Linked DNA regions of Homo sapiens: region 1 is linked to region 2. Evidence: promoter capture Hi-C in human tissues and cell types (Jung and others, 2019). All regions are on one chromosome and are shown on one strand. Each heading gives the region's core, a stretch centred on a gene start or on the middle of the fragment in contact. The rest is flanking DNA. Distances are from core to core; before and after follow the strand shown. Region 1 has its middle 93 kb from the start of LINC02404. Region 2 holds the start of EEA1 (early endosome antigen 1).

Region 1 (3,283 bases), core at 178-2,677, 1.1 Mb before region 2:
TGGTATTATTTTTTTACTCTCCAAAAGCTCAGGCCTTGATACTTGAGTATTATTTATGTCATATTTTACTTATGTAAGTCTTTGTGTGAAGGCCTCCAAAGATATCGTGCCTATTTTGTGATCTTGTTGTTTATAGACTCTTCTATGAAAGCAAAATATATGCATTTGGCTGAGTACATTTGGAGCCAAGGTAGGGGAGCTGGAATAGAAGAGTCCTTGAATGGTATTTGAGCATTATCTTTTTTAAAGAAAACATTTAAAAAGCACATTAAAAATTACTCTTGCATGTTACTTTAGACAGAGAGATCCCTAACATTCGTTGCTTTCTAATTTTCCTCTCCTTCTGGGGATACAATTGTGTCACACTTTCTAGCCACTTTGTAGTTTGATGGGGCCACATGCTGGTGATGGCCAATGGACTGTGTGTAAACAGATGTGCATTAATTCTGAACCAAACCCTGAACAGAGAAAATCCTTCCATCACACCTTCTCCCCTTCTCCCTTTCCTGGTGAATCTGAAAGCCACACTATAGCCAGAACATGCAGCTATAAGGTGGAGCTGTCCAATAGCTCCTTTGTTAGCCTAGATCTCTGAGTGTAGGAGCTTCATGGATACTAGCCACCTTGGAGAGTGGCATGGATCATAAGCATAAGAAATAGGGCTGTGGTATGTTTGCAACGGAGACTTCAGTGCTGTTTTTTCCTGATGCGTAATCCAGCCTCTTCTGACTAACAGCCATGTCTGTGCCTCATGAAATTTCAGTTACTTTTAATTTAATTTTGTTTAAAATATAGCTTTTAAGAGTCTGATACATACTAGGCACTGTGTTTGGTGCCAGGAATACAAAGATAAAAAATCTCATATTGAATGGGCAAAAACTGGAAGCATTCCCTTTGAAAACCAGCACAAGACAAGGATGCCCTCTCTCACCACTCCTATTTAACATAGCATTGGAAGTTATGGCCAGGGCAATCAGGCAAGAGAAAGAAATAAAGGGTATTCACAGAGGAGGAGAGGAAGTCAAATTGTCTCTGTTTGCAGATGACATGATTGTATATTTAGAAAACCCCATCGTCTCAGCCCAAAATCTCCTTAAGCTGATAAGCAACTTCAGCAAAATCTCAGGATACAAAATCAATGTGCAAAAATCACCAGCATTCCTACATACCAATAACAGGCAAGCCGAGAGCCAAATCATGAATGAACTCCCATTCACAATTGCCACAAAAAGAATAAAATACCTAGGAATAGAGCTAACAAGGGAAGTGAAGGACCTCTTCAAGGAGAACTACAAACCACTGCTCAAAGAAATCAGAGATGATAAAAACAAATGACAAAACATTCCATGCTCCTGGATAGGAAGAATTAGTATCATGAAAATGGCCATAGTGCCTAAAGCAATTTATAGATTCAATGCTAATTCAATTAAACTACATTCTTTACAGAATTACATTGACATTCTTTACAGAATTAGAAAAAAAACTATTTTAAAATTCATATGGAACCAAAAAAGAGCCCATATGGCCAAAACAATCCTAAGCAAAAAGAACACAGCTGGAGGTATAACGCTACCAGACTTCAAACGATACTACAGGGATACAGTAACCAAAACAGCATGGTACTGGTACAAAAATAGACACATAGACCAATGGAAAAGAATAGAGAACTTAGAAATAAGACTGCACACCTACAAGCATCTTATCTTCAACAAACCTGACAAAAACAAGCAATGGGGAAAGGATTCCCTATTTAATACATGGTGCTGGGATAACTGGCTAACGATATGCAGAAAATTGAAACTGGACCCCTCCTTATACCATGTACAAAAATCAACTTAAGATGTATTAAAGACTTAAATGTAAACCCAAAACTATAAAAACCCTAGAACCTACACAATACCATTCAGGACACAGGCATGGGCATATATTTTATGATGAAGGTACCAAAAGCAATTGCAACAAAAGCAAAAATTGATAAATGGAATCTAATTAAACTAAAGAGCTTCTGCACAGCAAAAGAAACTATCATCAAAATGAATAGACAACCTATAGAATAGGAGAAAAATTTTGCAATCTATCCATCTGAAAAGATCTAATATCCAGAGTCTACAAAGAGCTTAAACAAATCAACAGGCAAAAAAAACAAAAACAACCCCATTATAGAGTGGGCAAATGACATGAACGCTTCTCAAAAGAAGATATACATGCAGCCAACAAACATGAAAAAAAGCTCAACATTACTGATCATTAGAGAAATTCAAGTCAAAACCATAAGTGAGATACCATCTCATGCCAGTTAAAATAGCTATTGTTAAAAAGACAAAAAAAGACAGATGTTCATGAGGTTGTGGAGAAGAACACTTTTCTACTGTTGGTGGGAGTGTAAATTAGTTCAACCATTGTGGAAGACAGTGTGGTGATTCCTCAAAGACATAGAGGCAGAAATATTGTTTGACCCAGCAATCCCATTACTGGGTATATACCCAAAGGAATACAAATCATTATACTATAAAGATACATGCATGCATATGTTCATTGAGCACTATTCACAATAGCAAAGGCATGGAATCCACCTAAATGCCCATCAGTGACAGGCTGGATAAAGAAACTGTGGTACATACACACCATGGAATACTATGTAGCCATAAAAAGGAACGAGACCATGCTCTTTGCAGGGACATTGATGGAGCTGGAAGCCATTATTCTCAGCAAACTAATGCAGGAACAGAAAACAAAAGACTGCATGTTCTCACGTATAATTGGGAGCTGAATGATGAGAACATATGGATGCATGATGGGGAACAACACACACTGGAGCCTGCTGGGGACGGGGGGAGGGAGAGCATCCAGAATAGGTTATGGATGCTGGGCTTAATACCTAGGTGATGAGATGATTTGTGTGGCAAACCACCATGGCACACTTTTACCTATGCAGCAAACCTGCACATCCTGCACATGTACCCCTGAACTTAGAGTAAAAGTTAAAGAAAAATAAAAGAAGCTTCTTTAATCTGGCTTTGAGTTGGAAACTAGAAACCATTAATTTTTAAAAAGCTACATATTTTTAGAAATTGAAAGAGAAGAAAGTCTTTTTCTTCTAGCAAGAATATTTAAACCCTGATACATGCTAAGGAGATGTTCTTGTCCCTGTTGCTCTCAATATGATTGTTATGAGCTTTCAACACATTCATGCCTTTATTCTAATACAGATCCAAATAGAAGGCACTTTGCAGATCAATAAGTAATTATCATACACAGAATTTATTTGTACCATCCCCATAAC
Region 2 (2,900 bases), core at 178-2,677:
AGATAAAGAAGTTAACTATTTCTCCCTCTAATAACTGACCAAGTTTCACATGACTTCATTCTTTCAGGAGAAAGCTAGGCAGAAGCAAGAGCACTCCCTTCCTATCTACTGGATGACTCAACTCTCTTCCGCACATTCCTCGGCTGAATCCTACAAATTCACTAATTTCTTTTGTCCTTTGAACTAGTTATCCTACTCCCTCGGTAAAGAACTAATAGGCTCGGCACCTACTTTTCAATCATTTACATTTTGTTACACCCTATCAGCCTCAAAAAGAAAAGAAAAAAGCTATACCAAAAAAAAAAAACAAATTTAAGTTGACAGGTACAATAACTCTTACAGGAAAAGAGATGTGAATTATGTTATTCTAGTAACTGATTCTTAAATGATACACCTACAGTTTTCTAATGCTCTAATCTTTCTATCCTCAAGGTTTTCCAGATTTCAGAGACAGCACAGGCAGAAACTAAGTGTATATACCACTTGATCAAGCTTACTGCGGATTTATTCTTGGATAGCTAAAATAAGGTAGTGGGGCTTGCACAGAAAACATATTTTTAATTAAAAAAAAAGTTTCCAACAGTGAGTAACATCTTCCTTCTCGGCTGACTGTGCCAGTGTCAGTCCCACGCCTGGGCCCAGGCTAGGCCGGGGCTCACCACACCACCCTCCACTGTGGTCCAAAGGAGAAAGCAGGGCCGTGTGTGGCAGGTGCGCATCGTGTCAAATTGGGGGGCACGGGGAGTGCGGCGGGTGGGGAAAGGCGAAGCAAGCCGCCCGAATCTCCCATGGGGCGTTCTCCAGCCCGGCAGGCGGCGGCTGGCCCGTCCCACGGGCACCAACTCTCCATTTTCACTCCCACTCAGGGTTCCCGGGAGGAACGCGCCGGCACCACACCCTCCAGCTCGCAGCCCGCTCGCACACACGGAGCCCCGCGCCGGAGCGGGCGCCAGGCCTGGACGCGCGGGGCCACCAGGGCTCTGCCTGCCGCCCCGCCGCGCCGGCCCCACCCGCCCTCCCCGCCCCCGGGCCGGGCGACCGAGGCCTAAGCGCCTGCCGGGCTGTGGGGCCTAGGGAAGGAAGGAGCCCGCGCTGAGGAGGGGCGCCCGCGCCGCGGCCCCGAGCTCCGGCTGTCCCGCTCACGTGCTGCCAGAAAGACGGTTTCACTCTCTTACCCTCTGTAAAATCCTCCTTAACATGGTTTAACCACCACCCGGCGCCGCCGCGGTGACTCTCCAGACCCTGCGCGGGGCCACTCACTACTCGGGGTGCGCGGGCGGGAGGGACTGGGCCGGGAGGGGACCGGGAAGGAGGTCGGGGCGAGGCGGTGGCGACGGCCGCTCGGGCGGCCCCGACTTCCCCACAGGCGGCGAGAGGGAGCACGCGAGAGAGAGCGAGCGAACGACTAGGCAGCCTGCGAGCGCCTCCAGCCCGCCCGCCGGGCAGCCCCCGTAACTGACAGATGGGCGGGCCCGCCCGCGGCCGCCGGGGGGCGGGGCGGTGGCGGGCCCGCCCCTCGCCTGTCCATTCGCGGGAGGCGGGGCTGAAGGGGGCCGGTCCAGGCCAGCGACCAATCGGAAGCGGTGGCAACGTGGGCGGCTGCGTGACAGACAGGCGGCAGGACGCTGTCGCCGCAGCTTCTTCCGGCTAGCTGGGGGACGCCGAGGCTGCGGAGTGCACGCCTGGGCTCCGTCAGAGGGCCGCGCCCGCGCGACGACCGCGTGCCCGCTAGTGGGAGGCGGGCGAGGACCCCTGGGGGTGTCCCTCCCTGACCCAGGCGGGAGGAGGGGACGCCTTAGGCTGTTTTGTAAAATGTGTCGGTGTGACCCTTCCGGCGATGGCTCCTGACTCGACGTGGTATTGAGCCTGAGCTATATGCTAGTTTCTGCTGGAAACGCTGACTCTGCCTCTTAGCCCCTGGGTTGAAGCCGACTAGAGAATCTCAGACGTGCTTAACCGGTCTGTTGGGCTTCCCTGCCCTTTTCCAGTCCCAGGTTTCCTTTCCCTGCTCCCTTCCTGCTTCTAATTTCAGCCAAAGAGAAAGCAAAGATTTAGAAAAGAAGGGTAGGAAGAAGCTGGAATTTGAATTGGCAAGAGAAGTTTGAGGTTGTCTTTTCTAGATCAAAACAATTTTTAATAGGCTGATGTTCACATGTTGCACTTTCTAAAGCCCGTGCTTGACCTCCTAAGGAATTTTAAGTCCTATTCTGATAATCGATTTATGAAGTAAATTGTCATTAACGCCTCTGTTTTATAGATTAAGAAGAAAATGAGGTCACAGATAAATATCGTGCCAAAACGACGTGGTCTTTGAACTGACCTCCAGGCACGATGTCATTATTTAACTCGAGAAATCACAGCTTCTGCGTCCTACCATTCTGCCAATATTCACAGCCAAGAGGCTCAACTTAACACCCTGGTAGAAAAAGAGAAGCCTTTAATATTGCTTGAATAGGGAAGGAGAGGGAATAATGGAACTAACCTTGCTGGGAGGGAAAAAAAAAAAAAAAGAAAAAACCAACAGACCACTGAATGAAGCCTATGAAGCAATGAATGGAGTGCTTTTTGGAAAGCACTTCCAGATCTTTTGAAAAGCAGCACAAAATTAAATATTATTTGCAAATCAGTTAATGAATAGGAAAATGTTTTGTAAAGTATAATGCATTATATAATGTAATATGATATTTCTATCCCAAATATATTTGGTTTTTTATTATGTGTGTGTGTGTCTCTCGATGGTGCAGCAGCACGGTCATGCCTACAGCTAATATATGAGTAATCACTAGTGATAATGCACTTACAAAGAACATACTTTTCCATCTTTCTAAACATGAGGTGCTTTATTTTCAGACAATATGGGAAACATTCTCAGCGACATGGGGTGATAAAAGTGACTTTTT

The links. Contacts are between HindIII fragments. The study calls those that stand out against the background at their distance.
Region 1: a contact is called between a fragment that was not itself captured here and the fragment with the promoter of EEA1 in region 2, in 1 of the 25 tissues and cell types used here (dorsolateral prefrontal cortex).

The regions. Positions count from the first base shown.
Region 1 is chr12:91,780,720-91,784,002 of GRCh38, forward strand. No RefSeq gene overlaps it. Among named protein-coding and RNA genes, the nearest start is that of LINC02404, 93 kb to the right of the region's middle. The HindIII fragment of the contact is 5,622 bases long and covers 1-3,283 here.
Region 2 is chr12:92,927,868-92,930,767 of GRCh38, forward strand. EEA1 (early endosome antigen 1) reads right to left here and starts at 1,428. Exons shown (of 29, transcript NM_003566.4): 1 at 1,176-1,428. The coding sequence starts at 1,199. RefSeq lists a silencer at 818-1,897. The HindIII fragment of the contact is 16,341 bases long and covers 26-2,900 here.